7 separate regions of the Homo sapiens genome follow, and all the other regions are linked to region 6. The links are contacts of gene promoters, found by promoter capture Hi-C in blood cells and fetal thymus (Javierre and others, 2016). All regions are on one chromosome and are shown on one strand. Each heading gives the region's core, a stretch centred on a gene start or on the middle of the fragment in contact. The rest is flanking DNA. Distances are from core to core; before and after follow the strand shown.

Region 1 (3,362 bases), core at 332-2,831, 2.3 Mb before region 6:
CAGTCCGGCCTGGGTGACAGAGTGAGACTCCGTCTCAAAAAAAAAAAAAAAAAAAAAAAAGATACTGTCCATCAACACTCATGGTATTTCAGCAGGACATGGGCAGACAATCATTAACAGTATACAACAACTTTCAAACTCTCTTCTTCCATGGACTACCAAAAATCAGAAAGCCACTCTAAAACCCATGAAGCTTTCGACTGATGCTCTAAACAGGGAAAGTTTAGAGTGAGGGTTGACATTTCACATTTAGCGCATTGTTTAACAACTTTAAATTCTGCCATTTTTATTTCACTTCCTGAAAGTCAGGGTTATCTGAAGATCCACAGTCTAGAATCGGAACCGCTGCTCTTTGGAGGGGCAGCATCTCAGTGGCATCACTGGAAAGTCCAGATTGCCTAACACACTGGTAACCAATTATTGGGGGTCAGGTCCCAACAGGTGTCTGGATTTAAGGGAGTTAAGTCTGTGCTGAAAGGTAGAAAGGAAGAAGAGGATTTAAAAATGAATGATTTTGTTTTTCCATACCACAAAGCTTTTGTGCCAAGGTGACCATGTGGTCAAAGTCAGGGAATCCCTCCTCCTGGGAGCCAAGAGGAAGTCTTTCAAAACTACAAGGGGGCTGAGCATGGTGGCTTATGCCTGTAATCTCAACACTTGAGGAGGCCGAGATGGGCAGATCACTTGAGGTCAGGAGTTCGAGACCAGCCTGGCCAACATGGTGAAATTCCATCTCTACTAAAAATAAAAAAAAAATTAAAAACTAGAAGGGAAAAGTGTTTTCCCCACATCAATCCAGCTTCAGAGACATTCTATTAGTGACGTATGCCCCTTCCCCAAAAAAACAATAAAGTGTTCTGTGTGCTAACAACATAGCTTTAAAAAGAGTAAAACAAAATTCTGATTTTTATAAAACTTGATTAAAAAAAAAAAAGTAGGGCCGGGCACGGTGGCTCACGCTTGTAACCCCAGCACTTTGGAAAGCCGAAACGGGCAGATCACAAGGTCAGGAGATCGAGACCATCCTGGCCAACATGGTGAAACCCTGTCTCTACTAAAAATACAAAAAATTAGCTGGGTGTGGCGGCACGTGCCTGTAGTCCCAGCTACTCAGGAGGCTGAGGCAGGAGAATGTCTTGAACCCGAGAGGTGGAGTTTGCAGTGAGCTGAGATCACACCATTACACTCCAGCCTGGTGACAGAGCAAGACTCCATCTCAAAAAAAAAAAAATTGATAAAAAGTAGTATTTCAAACTGTGCAGCCACCAGAAGTACACAATTTTCAAAAATGCACACATTTCCCTCGGCACCCCCAGCACCTTTGGCTTTCTGTGTGCCACGTCTGTTCGGGCATATCCATTTTCTGCAGGGTTATCCGCTCCTTGCCAGCGTCAACTTTTCCCTTTGGGTACTTTCTCTCCCTTCTTTGCAGGGGTCTTTTTAGGCTTCGGCTCTGGCTTTGGAGGGGCAGGGTTAGCAGACAACTTGCAGATCTACTATGTGGTTCATGCTTCACCTTGGCCTTATCTACTATAGCATCCCCTTCAGCTGTTCTCTTGGGCATGCTGGCAACGGCAGTGGGACATGGGCACTGGGCGTGGGATGCAGCAACGTGTGGGCATTGGTTGGTCCAGGGATTGTTCTCCCCTTTTCTTCACACTTCTTCTGGTCAGAAGGCTTTGAGTGTCACCAGGAAGCTCAGGGTTAACCTGTTTTTTTTTTAGGGAGGTCTTTTTTTTTTTTTTTTTTTTTTAGGGAGGTCTTTGTCTCCTCAATATGTTTTGTGCCTCCTCAAGTCAGGATACCATCACGAAAAGAAGAATAGATAAATGCTGAATGTCAAAAACAACAGAAAAGCATGCTCGTTGATGCCACACAGATCACACCTGTGACCTGCTTCTTTCTAGCAGATTCATGTAAGACAGCTGCATGATTTCTCCTCCCACATCCTGAAACCGAGCAAGGCTGAATCTTGTATTTACTACTCTTTCTGTATTTTTAATGAAATAAGAGTAAATAGAACTTGGCAAGATGCCTCAAAATGCTTTTAATTCACTTGGGCTGCCTGCCCTTCATTCTAGGCTTCCTTGTTTATTTCATCAGAGTAAAGACAGGAGTTCATCAAAAGTCAGCTTCTCAGCCACATCCTCCCTTAGGTCTGACCGCAGCTTAACAGATCTGGTGACTTTTCAGCTCTCCCACTGCCCCACCTCCCTCATCCAGTTGTTTTTCCTTAACCTTCAGGTGACAGTTTAGACACTCCAAATCTGAGACATCTTTTACAGGCCTTCATGTCTGGATTACAAGCTCGTATCATGGATAACCATATGCATCCTATACTTCCTGATTTTTTGGGACAGTTTTGCCACCCTACCTCCATCCCCAACTAGATTATAGAAGGATGCCAAACAGTCTTTGTCTCAGGTACGTCCTCAGTGGCTAGCAAGTCCCTGGTGCTTAGAGGGCACTGCACAACTGTATGTTGATGAGTATCACACTGTAATGCAATTCTTTTGACTTCCATCCCCTTATTCAGCCATTTGTGCATTAAATATTTACTGAGCACCATGAACTATTTTAGTACTGGGTTTATAGCTGTTAAACAAATTCGGTTGCCAGAAGCTTATGTTTTAAAGGGGAATCGACATATAATAGACAAGATAAGTAAACCATAGCACATGCGAGGTGATGATGAGGGCTAAGAAACAAACTCAGCAGGGAACAGGATAAAGACTTGGGGGAAGGTTGCAATTTTGGGTAAAGGACCAAGGAAGGTCTCACTCAGAAGGTGGCACTTGGGTAAGAATCTGAAGAAGGTGAGGTGAAATCTGGGGGAACAGGGCTCCAGACAGAGAAGAGCAATTGCAAAGGCCCTAAGGCAGAAGCAAGCCTGGTGTGTTCAGAGAACAGCAGAGGTCAAGTAACAGGTGCATGGCACAGGAAGAACAAGGAGGAAATATGTGGGAGATGAGGATAGAGATTTAATTGTGTGTTTGGGACCCGGAGATAGGCAGGCGCTGGTGCACAAGAGTGACATGTCCCGACGTGTTTTGTCAGGCTCACTCTGGCTGTTTGTTGAGCAGAAACGGAAGTGGGGCAGGGACAGAAGCAACGAGGCCATTTTGGAAGCCATGGTGCCATAATCCTGACAAGAGATGATGGTGCCTTGCACTGGGTTGGCATCAGCAGATGCAATTAAATTCTGAATATATTTTAAAGGTACAACAGACCGGATTTGCCGATAGAGTAAAGAGACAATGAGAGTAGTCAGAGACAACTCCAAGATTTTTGGCTTGAGCAACTGGAAGGATGGAGTTGTCGTTTACCAAGTGGAGAAAGACTATGAAAGGAGAATTCATTGG
Region 2 (3,268 bases), core at 741-3,240, 2.3 Mb before region 6:
TGTATTCTCCCTGATACCCTGGTAGCACCCCAAGCTCCCAGAATTAGCTAATTTGCGTAAGTACTCCACTCTACCCTTCCTTCCACAGGTAACTGAGACCTATAGTCTCACTTCCCCATTTGTAACTATAGCAGCACCCAGGCCCCACACCTGGAAGGCCTGTTTCACTTCCCCTTCCACATTCAATCTGTCTCAGGTGCACCTGAGATTTTTTTTTTTTAAGACAGAGTCTTGCTCTGTCACCCAGGCTGGAGTGTAGTGGCGTGAGCTCAGCTCATTGCAACCTCCGCCTCCCAGGTTCAAGCGATTCTCCTGCCTCAGCCTCCTGAGTAGCTGGGACTACAGGTGCACGCAACCACACCCGGCTAATTTTTGTATTTTTAGTAGAGACGGGGTTTCACCATGTTTGCCAGGATGGTCTCAATCCCCTGACCTCGTCATCCACCCACGTCAGCCTCCCAAAATGCTGGGATTACAGGTGTGAGCCACCGTGCCTCGCCTGCACCTAAGATTCTTAGAACCCCAGAACAAAAGGTAGGACTGAAGGAAGCCTTCAATCATAACACTAAGCATTAAGAAGACACAGGTAAGCATGAAGCTTTCCAGCACTCTACTGAATCTCATGGTCTCAGTGAGGACACTGATGTTGAGCAGGTGGTCATTCCATCACTCCAGGGGAAAAACATGCTGGAATTCTGTCCTGTGCAAAATGGTCACCCTCATAGTCTCTTGTGTGCTGAGAAGGTCCAGCTGTGGACAGACCAAGAGGAAGTCCAGACCCTCTCACCAGCAGAATCCTCCCCAAGATCCCCAAACCTTTAAGGGTTTAGTCAATCAATTGGCCAATCTTCCCTGGCAGTAGCATCTTACCTGACCGCCAGGATTTTCTCAGCAGGGTAACACACACTCTCCAGAGCACCCTCTTGTTGAAATTCTACCTTTAAAGGAAGACCTGAAATGCTATTTCTTTCTTAAAGTGCTTCCTGACTCTGCCCCACCACATGGGGCACGTCTGCATCTCCATGGCATTGTGCTGGTACTCCACTCACATATTCAGCAATTCACATAGTCTTTCTTGTTTGATAGGGGTACATTTCTTACATCCCTGCAGAATCTAGCGCAGCACTAACTGCACAGAAGCAATGGCTCCTTCCTCAGTGACCTCTTGGCTGTGTACAGGCCTCTTTTTCATTACAGATCACATGGTGTTGCGTTGCTCTGTTCCCAGGTTGGTCCTCCGCATACCTCCCACTGCAGGATCCTGGAGATCAATGCTTGTGTTTCTTCATTTGTGAATCTCCCATGTCTCACCCTAGCATTAGGCAGACAGCTAAGTCTTTGCTAAGTGTTTGCATAAATTTGCTGTTTTGCTCATGTTGTACTAACAAGTTTTGCTGAGTAGACCCTGAGAAAATCCTACAGTCATTAAAATGGGAGGCATGGGGAAGTAAAAATGGAGAATTGGCTCCCAAGAAATCCTGCCAGAAATTTTGAAGAGGAAGTTAAATAAAAAAGAAATCGACATGAACATGAATCAGAAAAGATGGTCCTTGTGGGCACAGAAGTGATCATTAGAACGTAAGGTAAGACAGATGAAAGATTTTCTCTGATTAAGTCTCCCACAATTTCTACTTATGTTCAACCAGCATGATGTGGACTCAAGGCAGCTCAATATAGCAAGCTTCTATTAAGAGACTGTTAGGTGATAAGCAATGTGTTAGACAACTGGAGATGCAGAAGTGAATAAAATAGTCCTTCCCCACAGGGCCCCCACCTTGTCTTGGGGCAGGGATAAGGGGAGCTCTCAGAAATGCCTGCTCCCATCCCTGCATGCTTGCCTAGACCACCAGCAGTCTGCAGCTATCGTCAGTACCTGCAATCACCATCATCCATGGAGAGGGCTGGTTTTCACCCAGGTGAGATTAGTGGAACTGAAGTTACACTCTCTGGATATCTTCCTAAATTCCCAGCTTCCCCTAGGTGCTGGCTCTCCATTCCCTCCTGCAGGCCCCACCCCACCCCTGACATCACCTGGGTCCGTCCTGACTATCACCAGACACTGGGCTCCCTCCCACAGTACCGAGATGCTGTCAGCTCTGACAGTCAGCAAACGCTTTGTTGAGTCTTGGCCATGTGTATTTCAGGTCTCATGTGCCCAGAGACATCTTGGTCAGAAGGCAGCTCTTGTGTGTGGCCCTTGAGACAGCAGAACCAGAGGTGATCTGTTCAGGAATATTCCGCATGTAATGCCCCTGGTTCAACTCAAAGAACCAACCTGGTAACGCCAAGAACAAGCTTCAATACTCACCTACCCACACTAAAAAACTTGCAGAAAGTGAGTTTCTCTGGAGACCCTTACTACTATACTGTGGCACTATTACTAAGACTGTGTGACAGGCAGGAGAGGGGAGTTCTAAAGGAGACTGTTAGTGCAGGCAAGATGGACTTGGGAGAAATTGTTGAGAGATGTTTGGAAAAGGACAACCAAGGAAAAGGAACAGTGAGGAAGATAAAGTGCTACAACCTCTAAAGAAATACTAAGGACCTACTACACAAAGGAAAAATTAACAGTTTCTATGCTCAAGACAGAAATTGAGGGTTTGGGGAGTAATGGTATTAGGTCGTTCACTGGGGAAGTATATTTATTACAACTTTGTTTATGTTATTTTTAATACCCTGGCTTATATACCATTCATTTAATTCAGCTAAATATTTAATGACTATTGTATTTCAGGCACTATTCTAGGTCCTCAAGATATATCATTAAACAAAAGTCCCTAGGCTCAAGAAGACATTCCAGGAGGCATGTATTAGATTTTTATCATCTTAAAAGCTAATTGATAAAAGGTAATAAAATAAGTGTAAGAGAAGGACAAAAGAAAGACCAGAAGAAAATGAAAACAGAAAAGCTAACAAATCCAGATGTAAAGGGTAAAAACTGTCTACATTATTTTTGCTACTTCCTCCATGGAGGGGTGGAGTTTGTTTCTCCTTCTTTTGAATCTGGGCTGGTCCGGTGATTGTTTTAACCTATAGAATCTGTGGAAGGGAAGCTGTGCCAGTTGTGGATCTGAAGCTTTGAGTGGGCTTGCCAGGCTCCACTTTTGAGAGTTTAGAAACCTTGAAGAAATTCACCTCCACCAGGGAGAGACCATATGGAGAGGCCACATGGATAGAGAGAGGCCGTGTGGCAACACAGAGAGGAAGGGAGGCCTGACCAGCCCAGCTGAGCCCAGGAGCCATCGTGTTAAGTGGGACATCTTGGATG
Region 3 (3,204 bases), core at 411-2,910, 2.8 Mb before region 6:
AGAGGAAGAAACACCAGAGTGCTCTCTCTCTCTCCATGAGCACACACAGAAGAAAGACCATGCGAAGACACAGTGAAAAGATGGCAAGCCAGGAAGAGAGGCCTTACCAGAAACCAACCCTTCTGGTACCTTAATCTTGAACTTCCAGCCTCCAGAACGATGAGAAAGTAAACTTCTATTGTCTAAGCCACCCAGTCTGGGGTATATTGTTATGGCAGACCTAGCTGACTAATGCATCTTTCCAAAATTGGCAACTCTCTAAAGCCTTCTGTTGGCTTCCTGCAAAAGTTGTGTTACTCAAGGACGACACGACTATGGCTCTGATGCGGACAATGTTGCAAAAAGCCCCGAGGCCCATTAATAACATGAAAGATAGCAGCTGATGCGTATTGAGAACTTACCATGTCCCAGGTGCCATACCGTGTGCCCTACATATATTATCTCATTTAATTATTATGATAGGAATAATTGTCCCTATCTAACAAGAAAAAAAGAAAACTGAAGGTATTTGACTCCAAAAGCTTTTCTCTTTCCATTATGCATCCCTAGTTTGAGTAACTAGGCTATAGTATGGCCCAAAACTGTACCCCCAAAGGCTGGGCTCATTGAAGGGGCCCCAAGTTCACAGTCATCTCTGATCCCACATTCAAACACTCACCCAGTCTTTCTGCAGATGCCCAAGATGAACCCTTAGACCTGTGTAGTGACAGATGCAAATTTGTTCTCTGGACTCAGATGTGCAGAAAAAAATAACTATTCCACCTAATACCTGTCTACACCCAATGGATAGTAGAAAAAAATCTAAATTTGCAACACTCTTCCAGTTTAAAACAATGTCATTTCAGATTAAGTACTTAGTCAGCCCAAATTTCATATATCAAAAAACTGAAACACATGTAATCCACTCTTCCCATTATTAAAACTTAATGATGGAGCTGAATTAAGAAAAAAGAGAATGTTATGTAGGGGTGTCAGATGCCCGGTCCCTGCCTCCTCTAGACTGTGGATACCAGAAGGAGTCCTGGGAGAGAGGAAAAGACAAGAATGAGAAACCCATCCTCACTTCTGGTCCCAAGGGGATATAGTGGAAGTGCGAGTAGACCAGCAGCCAAAGAGACAGCCTGTCCTTGTTTCCCCTCTCTGGGCTCTGGCTGGGAAATAGGGAAGGGTGCATCCCTAAAAATCCCTAAAAATGGGAAAGGGGAGGGTGCATCCAAGAAGGTATAGGACGCCAAGGAAAGACGGCACTTGCCTCACTTACACATGTGGCTCTGAGGGGCGATCACCTGCCAGAATGCCCCATCACCACCATTGAAGAAATCATCTCTGAGTGCATTTGACATGTCAGGCACTGATCCAGCACATCAGACAAGAAGATGACCATATTTTAATTGCATGCACATGTGTGTGTGTATATGGATTTTTGGATCATTTGATTCTATTAAACTTCCTGAAAAAAATATAAATTTTAGAGATTAAATAGTAATTTCACCGCACCAGGGGCACTTTGGGATTTAAAGACCGTTTTTAAAAGAATCCTTTTGTAAAGTAAAGGTTAAGTCCCCAGTTGTTTGCTTTGTTTTGTTTTTAATGCAAACTCAGATTTTTCCTATACATTTGGTTTACTTAAATTATACACACACACACACACACACACACACTCACACACAAAAATATCTCAATTCCCTTGGCAGCCTATGATATTTGCTTCATTTATCAGATTGGAGGAAGGAGAAATATTGAAGAGAAGAGGAAGATGAGATGGGTAATTCGTGCTGTGGAATTTTTAAATAAAATTTTCCTAGAACAATCACATTTTCACATTTGCAGTTTATATTGTTTTTCTGTCATGAGTGGCTTAGAAACTAAACAAACAAACAAACAAAAACCTACATCACAGGAAAGGTAATGGAACAAACTGAAACGCTGGTTTAGAACCACGAGTTTAGTGGGAGTGTATTATTATACTTCCTTAATTCTGCCACGTGGCAAGGTTTTCTATGTGATTAATGAGCCACCATTGTACAACATTACCAGAAGGCAAACAATTCCAATTACCGATAGAGCTAAACCATAATTACCATGCAAATGATTTCAATAATGTAATAGAATGGAATATCTGGTCATTACAGGGCAGACAATTCACAATGTTAATTGGGGGCAGTCTGTTTTCAGAGAGTAAATAATATTAACAGTAATATAAATCCAAACTAATATTAGGTTTGACTTTGCTTATGATCAAGAGGAATGGTCTACTTCCGAAATTACGTTTACATTACAAAGACAAACCATACTTGCTTCGGTTTCTATCATAAGTAAAATGATTTGTATCGAAAATACTGGGAAGCAAAATGATACTGAGATGAGATTGAAAATTTGAGAAAAGAGGTCAGCAATTGAAGGCCTTTAGGCAAGAATTCAGACATGGGAATAGACAACCTCTAATTCCCAGAGTCGCCTCCTGGGGGCAGGAGATGATGGTTGAGAACTCCGAAAATAGGGGAGAACAAGAAAAAAGAAAACTGCTGTTAAGTCATCCTCTTAAATCCTACTTTTCCTCTCATTCTTTCTTCTATTATCCAAGTTTTAATCTTACATGACCACCTACTTGGTCTATTGTAATAGTTTTCAAGTCAGTTTCCTGCTCACTCCCTCCTCTTCCCCATTCATACTTACCTCTTCCCCATTCTGTGCAATATCAGTAGAAAAACATGAAGTTCTTCCCTCCCACTACTAAAGTCCCAATACTTTCTACTTCTGTTCTGAAATACCCAGAGGCTCCTTCCCCAAGAAGCTTCCTCTCACCATTCTGTACAGTCCCTAGGAAGTGCATGGTCCAACTTGGCCATTTATATTCATTCTTCCAAGGCTCCCAAGGCTCCCAAGGCTCAGAAGAATTGGGGTTTTTTTGCTCCAGCAGCAGTGCCCTGAATTTTGTGAAGTTCCTGTTGCTTATACTTCCACAGTAGACATAGTTTATGTTCGTGGCTCCTCCCATCCTATTTTTAAGCTTGATTCTCCAGTTTCCCTCTTATTACCTAATCCATACATCCCTCTAACAAATTCCCCTTTTATAAGATCTTGGCCAGAGTTCATTTTTGTGGCTTTCCAAAGAGGAACCCTAACTGATACACCTCTCCTAAGAAATTTAAGCCAGATCCACATGGCTTCCCCTGATAGGAGGGAAGACAGTCATGATTATCT
Region 4 (3,343 bases), core at 799-3,298, 2.7 Mb before region 6:
AGCTTCCAGTTGTAGTGAGTGGAAAGTATATAAATAACTTCCTTTGACCTTGTTTTTCTCACCTGAGATGAGATAACTATGGAGTAATTTGCTTTAGAGGAACAGAGGAAAAACACGGGTGAATGGAAAGATCCAAGGAAAGGGAGGTTTTTCTGATCCGGTTGAGGTTGCACTTCGCGTAATAACTATTGTGAGTATCATGTTGGTAAGTCTTCATGTAGGGAAATGGCATTATTTAGATGTTTGTGCAGGATCTCTGAGGCTAAACTAAGAAGGGAGCTGGGGCACCAGTATCCATGTAGTTCATCCAGGATGGTTCTTGGACTAAAGTGGTGCCCGTTGTGTGACTTTGCTCCCTTTTGACTCTATATATTGCTCTATTTTATATATTCTTGACACCTACTGATTTTCCTTCCATGTCTGTCAGTCCAGGTACTGTATCACCTGTAAGAACCAAGACTGAGCTCTTGAAAAATACTTTTCTGACTATTCTAGCCCTTAATAATTATTCCTTTCCATATTCCTGTGGCATTTTCAGGTTATACCACAAAGAAGAATACTTTTCTCAAAAATACTTGCTGATCATTGTGTGCAGTTCTAGGCATAGAATTATAGATAACATTTATTTTGGTCTCTTTGTTTTATATGTATATTACCTGTGGCCCCAGCTAGCGTGGAAGTTCCTTGATAAATACTGTTCTTTTTGTTTTCTGTCATTTTCTTTTCTGTAGAGCTTTCATTGTTGAGGTTCCTCAGTGCTGAACTAACAAGAGGGTACTTCCTTGAACATAATGAGGCCAAGTATACAGAAAGAAGAGAAAGAGTATACACTTGTTTGCGAATACCAAGAGAATTGGAAAAGGTACTATTTTTTCTTCATTACCAGACATCATTTTGAAAGTTATGTCAAAGTATTAATTATGCAAAAAAATGGTCAACAGCTAGAGTTGAGTTTTTTAAATAATTGAAATAATGTTATTGGGGGAGTAGAAATTTCCTTACAGGAAGAAGCTTTAAAGTTACATTTTTTAGTGTAAGACCCAGTGATAGGATATTAATAGATCTATCAAAATCTGAACTTTTCTGCCTATCATTATCATTGTGTGCTACATCAAAATAACTTTTGTAAGGAATTAATCTCTACTTCTGTACCCTTTTAGTTCCCTTCAGTTCTCTTTTACTAGAAACAGGTTTTTTTTCCCCCATTCAGCATGATAAATTATTTAATTTCAGCCTTTTTAAAGGTTTCAGTTTCTCAGAAAGCCCACATGTTTATAAACATACAGGACAGTCTCTTCAAAGAAAAAGATGGTTTGTTTAATCTTTATCACAGGAAGCATCACATTACAGGGTGAGTGTAGTAACAGCAGCACTACATCTTCACGTGTCTTATTCCTTGGCTGTGCCTTATCCTATCAAGACCAATAAAATAGGCTGGGAAAGCAGCCCCTTCTCCCCTAGGCGATGCTAGAGTTGGTGAGTCTAAGCAATTCCAAAATTTCTTGCTAAAAGAAAAGAAGAAATAATTCAGCTTCAGCTATATTGAAACATGTTTTCATACTTCTGTAGTAACGTAAATCTTGTAATAGTCCAGTCGTCTTCTTAGAATCATACTTTCTGTTGGAGTGGCTATCAGAAGAGTTTGGTTGGCTGGATTTATTGGTACATTGTAGTAACAAGAGGTACTGCAGGCAATGAGGAGTAAGGACCCAGCTGGTTTGGCTGATGTTCTATTTCTGATAGTCTATCAGTTTAATAGAAGAAAAAGAGCGAAATGTAGAGTGACAGTTTCAGAAATGTTGCTTTATGTAGGTTCTTGGTGAAGCGTCACTTGCTGAAGTTTTAGGGAGTTCTGTATTAGGGTGGGATTTAGAGAGCTGGTGAGCAAGCAAAGATTAGAGAACAAATATGGCAGTGGTTTGATTGCCTTTGGCAAGGATCATTAAATATGCTCAACTATTACTGTATTCCTGCATTTCTAGAGGACTAGAGTTCCCTGGGGGGGCCTGAGGGACTTACAGATAAGGAGGGAGGAGGAGTGGGCAGGGCTCTCCACAGCACTCCTCTCCAGCGCAGCAACAGCTCTGTCTTATACATTGAGATTTATCGAAGATTTTGTTTGGGGAAAGGAGTAGGGTAGGCGGATGTTTCTTTTACTTGGAAAAAAATAAAAGATTAAACCAGTTCTTGTGTCTTAAAAGACTGTTAGCTTGCTTTGCAGCTTTCTTCCAGCAATAAGCCATGAGATGGAAGTGTGAGGACACAGTGCAGGGGAAGTGGGAAGGACAGCCTGCCAGGGCCTGTATTTGGACAGGATAGTGCCAGCCACAATCAGCTTTTGCCCACCTGGCCTCAGCCCTCTACAGGGGAATTTGTTTCCTGTCTTTCTGAGTAGTTATGAACTCCCATTTTTCTCTGGGGAGAACACAGAGGGATTTGCCTGCAACTCCCACCAAACTTTATGAACACAACCAGGGGACTGCTTCAAAGTGGGTTGGTATCTGTCTCACCCCTTTTATTACCCCTCCTGTGGCAAAACTAATGAGCAGTGGCAACATCCACTCCTGATTTTGTTACCTCAGCAGAGACAGGCTGGTTTCACGCTTCCTTCTTTCTTTCTCTTAAGGCAACACTGAAATAGCAAGCAATGTTTTGGGGTAGATTTCTCACAGAAACTAATAAGCATTTCATGGTTGTAATTATGAGTATAAATTGTTTTCTGGAGAAAATAGCTTATACTTATGTCTTGATGAGACTAAAGTATAAACCAGTGATTCTAAATTGTGGTCCACTATAGAACCACTAATGGGTCAAGTAATCAGTATAAGTTGCCATCAGAATTTTTTTTTTAAGAAAATAGAAGAAGTATTAGAGAACATTGCCTATACTAAGAATAAGTATTGTTTCATGAAACTTTGGTTCCATTTGTATGAATGTAAATGTATAATGTCAGAAAAGTTGCATCAACACTGCTCATACACAATTGTAATAATTTTCTAATGATTTTTGTTTTCCCTGAGAGAGGCTTTAGGCCTGTTTGGGAAAATTTGATGTAGTCTCTTAGAACAATACTTAAGAAGCTTTGTAGCCTAAATGTACAAAAGAACATCATGATTTTCTGTTTGGAGCATTTTTTCTTAACTTCTAAAACCAAGTGGGATGTAGAGGAAAGCCAATTTAGGTTTCAGTTTAATTCCAGGCTTAAATATCTCTCATAACTGCATGAATTCACTCTGCTATCTTTAAGGCCTTTATTTTTTATAAGTAGGATTTCACTTAAAGTTTTTATTATGAGTTGAGAGCCTATCTAGACATGCAAGATAACCTAAATAATTTTTTATTG
Region 5 (3,188 bases), core at 632-3,131, 2.8 Mb before region 6:
TGGGGGAAGGCAGTTGGGCTCAGGGAAAGGTTAGTGGGCTAAACTTACTTGAAAATCCAGGGTTTGGGTGGGAGAAGAGTGAGAAACAGTGAAAGGGCAATCTGAAGCCACATCAGGGAAGGTCTTGGTTACAAGTCAAGGACTTTGTATACTATTTGGTCAAGAACTGGAAGGCAGTCAAAGTTTTTGAGTAGGAGAGGTGCATAATTATAGCAAGGCTTTAAGAAGACTAAGTGGGCAGCAGGGTGCAAAATATATAATCTAAGGAGAATTTGGGAAGGAGATAGTTCAGTTAGAGGCTCCTGTATAGATTGGAAGAGGAAGTAACATTAATTCATGTCATCGCAGTGGGACTGGAAGGAAAATGACATTTGTATAGTGCTTTAGAGTTTACAAAGTTCTTGTTGCATTAATTACTTCATTTGATATGGCACTTGTGGAAAGTAAGTTAGCTCAAAGAAAAACAGACCATAAGACAGTTTACAGTCAATAAATGTGAAATGAATAAACATAAGACTCTAAAGGGCTCGGTGACTGCACACAGGAGGGAATGCAAGTGAGGAGTCAAATATGACTCACAGTCTTGAATAACTGGAATTATTCATTCATCAAGTATTTGTTGAGCTTTTGCTATATGCCAGGAAAAGTGCCAGATGCTAGGATTGCAGCAAAGAACATGGTAGACGAAGACCCTATTCTCAGGGAGCCAATGTACTAATGAAAGAGAGTATCAATAGATATATAAAGAAATATAAAACATCATATGGCAAAGGAAAAAACAAATCAGGGTAAGAGGATAGAGTCTGTGGGGGTGCTTTTTTAGATATTATGGTCAGAGAAGGCCTCTTTCCAGAAGTGACTATTGGGCAGAGACCAGAAGAAAGCCAGGCAGTGAGCCATGTGAAGTTCTAGGAGAGAAGTATCTGGGGCAGAGAGAGTAGCATGAAAAAAGCCCTGAAATGAGTGTCCATCTGGTGTGTTCAGAAAGTAACAAGGGGGCCTGTGTAGGCAGCAGAGTCAACAAGGAGGAGGTGATAGGTCATGAGCCCAGAAAGATAGCCAAAGGCCTAATCCTCAATGGTCTTGTAAGCCAAGGTAAGTACCTCTGGCTTTTGTTTGGAGGAATCATTTATAGAGAGCAAGAGTAAACAGATACCAGTAAGAAGGCACCATGGGAGCCCAGGGAAGGGACAATGGTGGCTTGAACTGATGTAGCACTGCTGGAGGAGATGAAAAATGGCCAGATTCCAGATCTATGATCAGGCAACGCTTGTAGGATTTTTTTTTTATCAGATTTGATGTAGAGTAGAAGAAAAAGGATGATTCCAGAGTTTGTACTTAGAACAGCTGGGTAAATGGTGGTGCCCTTACCAAGATGCAGTATGGTGGGCAAAGACAGCAGGGGCTTTGCTTAGCCCCTGTTAGATTTAATAAACCTCTTGGACATTCAAGTGGAGATGTTTTGAAGGAAGGATGTGATCATGGAGTTAGGAGGAATGTCAGGGTTAGAGATATAAATTTGAGATGGCTTTACCACCATCAAAAATAGAGAAACCAGGAGAGAGAAGCAGATTCACATACCGTATGTATTCACATTCAGTATGTATTAAGCACAGAAAAAGTGTGTGAATCCACTTACTATGTGTTAAGCACTTTTTTAGGGCCTGGGTGTACAGACATCAAAGACATACTTCTTCACTTCCAAGGGCTCACAGTTCACCTGGGAATACAAACAAGTAAGCAACCAGCTACACTTTAGTATGATACGATCTATAACAGAAGTTTCCAAGGGGTGCTATAAGAGACAGCAGAAGGGCATCAGATGCAGGAAGCCTTCCTAAGGAAAATGATACACAAGAAAAATTTGGAGGGTTGAGGAAGGAATGTTTTGGGACAAAAAATTCAGGCCCAAGGAGAAGGATGTTTCGGGGGACAGAACGTAGTTTTCAATAGCATAGAGGCATTTGAAACGTGACATGTTCGTGAAACTGCAGTTATTTGACATGACTGGAAAAAAGAGTGCTTGTAGAAGAGTGGTAAGAGATGAAACAGGAAAGGTGAGCAGGGGATAGGCCAGAAAGGTCTCTTTAGCCCATACTGGGGAGTCTGAAGGTGAAGAAGACAAGTTTTGTTTTAGAAATGCTAAGTTTAAAATACAAATGCATGCTGCTCAGGTGGTAGATGCACCAAAATCTTACAAATCACAACTAAAGATCTTACTCATGTAACCAAGCACCACCTGTTCCCCAAAACCTATGGAAATAATTGTTCTTTTCCAATCACTCTGGGAGCTTTTAATAGGCACAAGTGCTGCAGCCCCATCCTACATATTCCAACATAATTGTTCGGGGGTAGAGACCTGACATTGGTCTCATTAAGATGTGTTTGTGTGTATATGCACAATATACATGTATATGTATTACATATGTATATGCATTCATATATATATACAGTACATATGTGTATGGATTCACATTTTTACAATACATATGATTATCTCATTTCTTTCTATAAAAATAAAATAAAATACAAATGGGACTTGCCTAGCAGGTAACAGAAAATGGGAGATTAGAACTCCAGGGGAGGTCAGGGTCAGATTTATATTTCTAGTTATGTCTGTATCTGTCATATTTCAAAACCTCTGTCATAGAAATCATCATTGAAGCCATAGGAGTGAATTAAATATCCAAGAAATAGAAAATGCAGAAAAAAGAGAAGTAAGAAAAGAACAGTTCTGTAGGCAGACCCCACAATTAGAAGACTGGAGAAGGCCGGGCGCGGTGCCTCACGCCTGTAATCCCAGCACTTTGGGAGGCTGAGGCGGGCGGATCACAAGGTCAGGAGATCGAGACCATCCTGGCTAACACGGTGAAACCCCGTCTCTACTAAAAATACAAAAAATTAGCCAGGTGTGGTGGCGGGTGCCTGTAGTCCCAGCTACTTGGGAAGCTGAGGCAGGAGAATGGCGTGAACCCAGGAGGCGGAGCTTGCAGTGAGCCAAGAATGCGCCACTGCACTCCAGCCTGGGTGAGAGTGTGAGACTCCGTCTCAAAACAAAAAAAAAAAAAAAAGAAGACTAGAGAAGTGGAAGGGGAGTCATTATGGAGCTCAGGGAAAGAACAGTCAGGAGGATTTAAGAGCTGGAAGAGTACAATGTCACCATCGCCATGGAAACAGGGACTCATGAA
Region 6 (3,605 bases), core at 883-3,382:
GCCGAAGTAGTTATGTCAGTTGGAATTTTTTTGTTTGTAGGTAACACAATTCATCGCCAAAGTACCATATTATTATTTCCCATAACAAGAAACCGAGAAGATAGAGTGAACAAAGTGTAGTAGTTCCAAAAATCCTGTTCTTACCTAATAATGACAGCAAAGGAAGGGAGGAGGAGGACTCCCCTGTAACTCTCCTTTTTTCTTTTCCTTTTTTTTAAATGGTGGGGGGAGGGTTCTTTTACAAATGTCTTCCAAAGGACACTGTCTTCTGTCTCATTAGTCCGGTGGATCACATAGCTATCTAAGGAAGACTGGAAAAGAAATTTTCTTGCATTTTAACTGCCCTCATGGACAAGAAGTGGTTAAGTCTGTCCTCACTGGAAGTAGATTCTTCTCACTAACAAGTACATATCCTCTTTCTTCTAATTCTTATGAATAAATCTGGTGAATAGAAAATTGGTGGTGGCAATGGTGGTGCGGGATTGGGGAAAGAATTGGGTACTAATACTTAACTGGGTACCTATAATTGTGGGCCAGCCCTCTCTGCAGATGAAGAGACTGAGGCTCTACATAAGAAACTTGTATAAGGTAAATTGGCTAGAAAGTAGTGACACTTCCAACACGGACCATCATCTAATTATGATGATGATGAGGGTGATAGTTACACTGGTTAATATTGAGTGCTTACTACACACCAGGCATTGTGCTATCTACTTTATGCCGATTATTTCATTTAATTTTCAAACCTACACAAAGGCAGTAGTCTGTTCTACAGGTGAACTAACTGAGGCTCGAGGACACATATCTAGTAAACATGAGATTAAACTCCAGTGATGCCTCTAGGTCTGGGCATTTCTTTACACTGTTCTGCTTTCCTGTTCTAATGCCCATATGGTCTCCAAGACTACTGCCTCTGGGCTAAGCATTTTGTTAACTTAAGATACTTCATCTGCAAAATGGGGATAATTATACTTCATAATTCCTAATAGTAGTAAAGGTAACAATAAATTTTAAGTGATTAACAATGAAACAACCATAGCAGGACAGCATTATTATTTTTGAATTTACCTCACTAAATTGTAAATTTCATTTATGCCGTTTACCTAACGCTCCTGGACTGAGATTATCCAGGGCAGCAGTTCTTAAATTTTTTGGACTCAGGGCCTCTCTATAATGTTAAAGAATTACTGTGACCTCCAAAGAGCTTATGTTTATGTGGGTTACACCTATCACTACTGCATTGAAATGAAAACTGAGAAATGTTTAAAAACAACAAACGCAAGCTCCCTTAGCTGCCAGTGATGACGTCGTACACAAAGCGTATCCTCCAGGAAACGGTATACTAGTGAGAGAAGGAACGTGAGAAAGACAGACAAGGTGTCCGTATTATTATGAAAATTGTTCTGAGGTCATCGGGATTTCCAGAGGTCCCTAGACCACACTTTATGAGAACTGCTGCCTTAGGGTAAAGATGGGGTGCCAGGAGGTTGGCGATCAGTAGCGTCTGATGAACGAACCATGGGAGCCTGGGGTTGTTCAGATGAGGAAACCAAGAGTTAGGCCGAAATAAGCAGCGCCGGAGCTCCACTGTATTCACGGCCGCTACTGAGGCTTCCCAGCAGCCTCGGCCCTTAGCAGCTGTCCCCTCATCCGCCCCGAGGTACCCTCTTCCCTGGTCCGGTTTTTCAGGGGCCCTCTCTGGCGCTCTCCGCCAGGCTACGGGCGTCCCGGGTGCCCGGAGACAGGCCCCGCCCCGCCGCCGGTCCTCGAACTCCTGGCTGCCAGGCAACCCTGGCGCGTAGCCCGGGCGTCACTGCTCCACCCCGTCAGGCTGAACCATTCCCTTCAGAGACTTTCTCAAGAGGGAAGGAGAAAAGGGAATTTGATGGAACGCCTGAAAGCTGCTCTGCTCCCGTTTTCTCTCCTTAATTTGAACGAACACTTCTTTTCTTCTTCTAGCCAACTGTCTCCTGAAGGGAAACGCAGCGCCTCGCCTCTCCCGCCGGAATGTCCCCCACACCAGTCCAGGGCCGCGAGTGGTTCGGCTCGTCAGGCGGGGCCGCCGGTCGGCGCGGGTTGGCTCTGAGGCGGGGGCGCGCGCCCGACGTGCGCGTAGGGGGCGGGGCCGCGCGCAGAGGGCGGGGAGGTGGGCAAGATGGCGCTTGCCGAGTGATTCTCCTCGAATACCTCCTGCCGGCGCGGAGACACCGGGGCGGGGGTCCTGCCGCAACTACCTCCCTTCCTCCTCTCCCCCGCCCCCGGAGCCTTCATCCTTCCCTTCCCCCCCCACCTCGAGGGGCGGGCCTGGTTCCCGGGACACCATGTCGGACTCTGAGGAGGAGAGCCAGGACCGGCAACTGAAAATCGTCGTGCTGGGGGACGGCGCCTCCGGGAAGGTCAGTCCTCGAGCAGGCCCGCCGTCCCAGGCCTGCAGGAACCCCGGCGGTCCCCGGCCTCCTCCCCGCCGCCCGGCGTCGCCTCGTTACCCCGAGCCCTCGGGCTTCTAGGCCCGGGCCCTTCTGGTTGTGTGGCCTGAGGCCGGACACGAAGTGGGCGCTTGGTGAAGGCCGACGAGAGCTGTCCAGCTCCCCCTTAAAAAAGAGTCACTTCCTAACTCCCCGCCTGGATTGCGAACTCCTGCAAGACTCGGGCCAGCCTTTCAGCTTCCCGCCTCTCAGGACTGGCAGGGATTTGCCAAGGCATCTTAGCTCCTCTTACTTGTAGTCTGGGTCACACTTACTCCTCCCCTCCCACCCCCTTTACCGTTTCTGATGCTTCTACTGCATCGTGAGCTCCCAGGAGCGTAGCTCTGGAATCAGTATTCCCCGGGTGAGAATTGGGGCTCTGCCACTTAGTCGTCGGGTCATTGGAGGGCAAATTGCTAATCAGTTTAAGCTTCATCTGTAAGATGGGTATTGAAAAGGGCCGCCGCAAAGGGAGAAATGTGAAAATACATATTAAATGTGAAAATACACATAAAACCTTTAGAGCACAGTGTCCACTCAGTACACTCTAGTTGCTATTTTAATATCATACCTGTTCATCACCTCTGTTTCCAGCTCAGCACTCGATACAAGCAGTCAGTCAACAAGTGTTTATGGAGCTCCTGTTACGGGTAGGATGCTGAGGGTAGAGCTGCTTGCGTGACAAAAGGGATCCCCTGTTCGAATGAATGAATGCGGGCGTGAGAATATCAGGCAGCGTCAGTCTTATTATCTCCTAGGCAGGGGCTCCTACCCCAAGGCTGTGGAACTCCTGAAATGGAGTAAATACTGCCCGGTACGTGCTCTGGGGAGAGGGTCCATAAGATCTCAGAGGGGTCTATGATCCCTCCACCAGCAAATAGTGAAGAGCCTCTACCCGGATGCCTTCTTTCCCATGCTTCTGTCAAAGGCGCCAACACTTTCTGGGAATATTGCTAAAGTTTATCACCCCTGTACTCCCCTTCCTTATCCCAACCATAGTCTAAAGAAACCCAGGCTTTTATTTCCTGTTTAAGGCTTCACATTTCCCTGTTGCTGGTTGCATTTCGGACCCTGGTTTCTCTGGTGACGACTTCTCTTTGCATCCTCCCTGACAGTTGGCACTGCCCAGATACCTGCTTC
Region 7 (3,336 bases), core at 456-2,955, 2.7 Mb before region 6:
TTCATGTAATTTGATTTTATTTTTACTGTGTAAAACTGTGTGTTTATCCAGCTAGTAAAAATAAAATCAAATTACATGAAACTAAGTACTGTTCAGAAAAAGAATATCTAGCCAAACATGTCAGATAATAAATATCAGAACTATAATAAATATTAAAATTGAGTATTTAAAAATGGGTTGCAGCACTAGAAATGAATTATTTATATTAAGACAATTGTGTTATTACACTGCTAAGTAGATGGATGAAAGGTCAGAGTGTAATTTAAAAGATGATAATGACCAGCATGTGATTTAGTCTCAGTTTTCTTAGCAATTGAATATTTATGTGTAAATTATACACGCCAAATTTGTAACCCCAGTGTATATCTGTCAAGAGTGGGCATATGCTTAGGAGAACATGAATTAACGTTAGTACCAGCTTAGGCAATGTATAATTAGGAGGATAAAATTGTCACAAGAAAATAATGCTTGCTAAAGCCACAACATGTTTTCTTTTTATTGCTATTTCAAAAAATTAACCACATTCTTCTATTCTCCTCCATGAAACTGTATACCTAAGTTATAGTATTTATTAAGCATCCACATGGAAGACAAGCAGGTAACAGTGGTTCATTATTAGAAATTGATACTAAATTGGAAAATGTCAGAAACAAGAGAAGCATTTTACATATAAACATAGGCTTAGAACTGAAAAGAAAACGGAATAGAATAGATGCATATAAAAGAGCAATTTGAAAATCTAAGGCCTTGAAATCAGATAAACTAATTTCTAAAACCTGGAAAGCAGAAACCCTGAGATTTTTGAGAATCTGAAAATTTATCGTGCATTTCCAATAAATTTTGGTATGAACGCAAAAGAGAGAGATAAATACTTGGGTTTGCCTAAAAGATAACAAACAATAGATCCTTGTAAGAGACTGCTTTCGCTTTTTAATATCTCAGAAACAAGAGGAGAAAGAAAAGGAAAAACTGTCAGAATGGAAACACTGATTAATGAACAGGATGAAAGCTAATTACAAGAGCAGGATCACAGCCCAAAAGAGCTTAAAGGGCATCGATGTCAAGAGAAAAATTACTCAGTTACCTTAATCCATCATAGTTCAACTAGAAACACTAGAAAAAAGCAAAAAATTATCCTGAATATCATGTAAAATCTTCTGATTACCAACTACTATTTGATGAGTGGCCAAACGAAGCAATAAATAACTTGCCACTGGGGAATAACAAAAAGAAAAAAAAAAAAAAACTCTGAAAGGCAAAATTCAAAAGGACTAGCAACAGGAACTGGGTGATAAATAAAATCTCCCCTGCTTCCTGAATTCCAAAATGAAAGCCTTTGCTAGCTAGAATTATAAAAAAGGATTTTTGACAGTTATCAACACATTTACTAGAAGGTCTGAATTTATTCTGCAAAAGGATTCTTGTTAATTAACCGACTAAATGATTAATACGGTTTGAAACAACCTCTATTTATTTTCATCGTGATAATGAGAAACACTTCTTTTTTCTTAGAGATAAATCTGGAATGGAAAGTCTGCTGAGTCATTACCAGGGCCCCTTTCATCAGTATTTTGAAATTTTCCAGAAATTTAAAGTACAGCACAAAATAAATTTTATATCTGATCATGAATAAAAGGCCCTATAAGCCAATAAGCCATGAAATTATATAGGTTCATACACTTTTATTACATAAACAGAACCTACCTTTAGGTCTTCAGAACATAATATCCTTCATAAAACACCCCTTTTAGCAAAGTATTGTTTTCAAAAAGTCCTATTTACAATGGTTTCTGTCATATATTTGCACGTCAAAGAAATGCTTTTAAAAATGATGTTGCTCATGACAGTTTTAGTTAAGGTGTAACAGTTACATTGGAATCAAAGGCACATTACTTAATTTGTGTTACATCTTCCAGAAATAAAGCGAACTGGTGTCCTTTACAAATCCATGGAATAAAGCCCAAAGAGAATAAAACGTAATGAGCGTCAGTCCAAAAATGATTGCCAAAGATAGAAAATATTACTACTGAAACTCAGAAATTCAAACTCACATTAATTTAGTGCAAAGGCTTGATCTGGGTTCAGTGGTATATTTTATTTCTTTAGAACATCAGCTGCAAAGCTGTTTAGATCTTTCAACAACATCAACTCTTCTTTTTGACGACAAAATGGTGAATGAGTTAAATTCAGAACTACAGTTTGTGAAGAAACATGACATTTATGATTCATGAAATAGAAGTCATGTAATGCTAAAATAAAGTTTCAACTGAGAAATACAGATTTAATTAAAACTGTGCTCTATTCCGTGCTTGAATCCACACTATGAAAATCAACTGTACATTGATTACTGAGTAATCATCTCAAATATAACTTCAGGTGCTGTTTAATGTCACCTTACAGCAGAGTTCTTAGACTCAGGTGTGCATGGGTACAATACTGGAAATTTGTTCAAAATGTAGAAACCCTGAGGCCTGGTGTGAGAAACACAGCCTTAGAGTTCTGGAAGGTCACTGAGAAACCATCACTTCTCCTCATGCCAAGGAATGAAGGACTAATGCATAGAACATAAAGGTACATAAAAACTTACATGTCTTTGTTGTGTTATCAACACAAGTATTGCATTTGAACTCTATGCATTCAAATCTTAGACTCAATTACAAAGTGACTCTAAGCATTTCATATTTTTCTACAAATGTTGATAATGCAGGCCTGTCTACTATTTTTAACTCAGAAGGGAGGTGCATGGAGTTTAGCCCAGAATTTTGGAGCTACAAGGGAGGATCGGTCATTGAGTCCAATACTCTACAGGTCAGAAAATGAAGCAGAAAGGGGTCACCTGTGCTCCTTTGGTCAAAGACTTTAGTTGAAGGGTCAGAGAGAATCCAGGCCATCTCCTGACTCGGGATTCTTTCAAGTTAGCAAATATGTGATGTTTTTATTACTCAGGAAAAGTGTACAGAACTACTTTCAAAAGTACTTTAGGGACAATACACTAGAAGTGTTATCAAGAGATAAATTGCTTTGTAGTTAAAAAGTGAAAACTACAGCCTAAATGAAAGGAAGGGAGAATAAAAGGAAAATCGTTATTTTTTTCAGCTTTCATTATACAAAAGATGTTGCCCCAATTTACCAATGAAAAGACACTGAGGGCCACAGTGGCCCTCTGAGACCCTCTTTCCAGGGTCACATAGCTGAAATATGTGGCCAAAACAGTATCTTTCCCAAGGCTTGTAACTGTAGGCCCTTGTACTACACTGTGCTATACCTGGTAGAAAAGAATATAGATATACAAACTAAAAAACATCACTTATTTTAAAACTTGTTATTTCATGAAAT

What was found. The method cuts DNA at HindIII sites, captures the fragments that hold promoters and counts their contacts. A CHiCAGO score of 5 or more calls a contact.
Region 1: a contact is called between a fragment that was not itself captured here and the fragment with the promoter of RAB28 in region 6, in 5 of 17 cell types (total CD4 T cells, naive CD4 T cells, activated CD4 T cells and 2 more). The highest score is 12.6, in total CD4 T cells.
Region 2: a fragment that was not itself captured here is called in contact with the fragment with the promoter of RAB28 in region 6 in 8 of 17 cell types (naive CD8 T cells, total B cells, monocytes and 5 more); the score reaches 12.4 in naive CD8 T cells.
Region 3: a contact is called between a fragment that was not itself captured here and the fragment with the promoter of RAB28 in region 6, in 2 of 17 cell types (M0 macrophages and monocytes). The highest score is 10.4, in M0 macrophages.
Region 4: a fragment that was not itself captured here is called in contact with the fragment with the promoter of RAB28 in region 6 in 5 of 17 cell types (total CD4 T cells, non-activated CD4 T cells, activated CD4 T cells and 2 more); the score reaches 10.0 in total CD4 T cells.
Region 5: a fragment that was not itself captured here is called in contact with the fragment with the promoter of RAB28 in region 6 in 1 of 17 cell types (total CD8 T cells); the score reaches 6.2 in total CD8 T cells.
Region 7: a contact is called between a fragment that was not itself captured here and the fragment with the promoter of RAB28 in region 6, in 9 of 17 cell types (non-activated CD4 T cells, monocytes, total CD4 T cells and 6 more). The highest score is 17.8, in non-activated CD4 T cells.

What each region holds. Positions count from the first base shown.
Region 1 is chr4:15,765,179-15,768,540 of GRCh38, reverse strand. It overlaps a transcript of BST1 not described here. Among named protein-coding and RNA genes, the nearest start is that of CD38, 11 kb to the left of the region's middle. The HindIII fragment of the contact is 2,087 bases long and covers 538-2,624 here.
Region 2 is chr4:15,782,008-15,785,275 of GRCh38, reverse strand. The region is part of intron 1 of CD38 (CD38 molecule); the gene reads right to left. Among named protein-coding and RNA genes, the nearest start is that of CD38, 5.3 kb to the right of the region's middle. The HindIII fragment of the contact is 614 bases long and covers 1,684-2,297 here.
Region 3 is chr4:16,270,388-16,273,591 of GRCh38, reverse strand. No RefSeq gene overlaps it. Among named protein-coding and RNA genes, the nearest start is that of TAPT1-AS1, 45 kb to the right of the region's middle. The HindIII fragment of the contact is 2,273 bases long and covers 524-2,796 here.
Region 4 is chr4:16,211,287-16,214,629 of GRCh38, reverse strand. TAPT1 (transmembrane anterior posterior transformation 1) reads left to right here. Exons shown (of 14, transcript NM_153365.3): 2 at 732-862. Among named protein-coding and RNA genes, the nearest start is that of TAPT1, 14 kb to the left of the region's middle. The HindIII fragment of the contact is 2,069 bases long and covers 1,014-3,082 here.
Region 5 is chr4:16,251,157-16,254,344 of GRCh38, reverse strand. All of the region lies in intron 2 of TAPT1-AS1 (TAPT1 antisense RNA 1), which reads right to left. Among named protein-coding and RNA genes, the nearest start is that of TAPT1-AS1, 26 kb to the right of the region's middle. The HindIII fragment of the contact is 3,832 bases long and covers 1-3,188 here.
Region 6 is chr4:13,482,867-13,486,471 of GRCh38, reverse strand. RAB28 (RAB28, member RAS oncogene family) reads left to right here and starts at 2,132. Exons shown (of 7, transcript NM_001017979.3): 1 at 2,132-2,396. The coding sequence starts at 2,322. LOC105374495 (a long non-coding RNA gene) reads right to left here and starts at 2,023. Exons shown (of 3, transcript XR_925413.1): 1 at 1,518-2,023; 2 at 145-311. RefSeq lists silencers at 1,671-1,730, 1,693-1,987, 1,981-2,600 and enhancers at 1,871-1,990, 1,250-2,157, 1,953-2,247. The HindIII fragment of the contact is 2,971 bases long and covers 1-2,897 here.
Region 7 is chr4:16,229,975-16,233,310 of GRCh38, reverse strand. The region is part of intron 1 of TAPT1-AS1 (TAPT1 antisense RNA 1); the gene reads right to left. Among named protein-coding and RNA genes, the nearest start is that of TAPT1-AS1, 5.0 kb to the right of the region's middle. The HindIII fragment of the contact is 8,035 bases long and covers 1-3,336 here.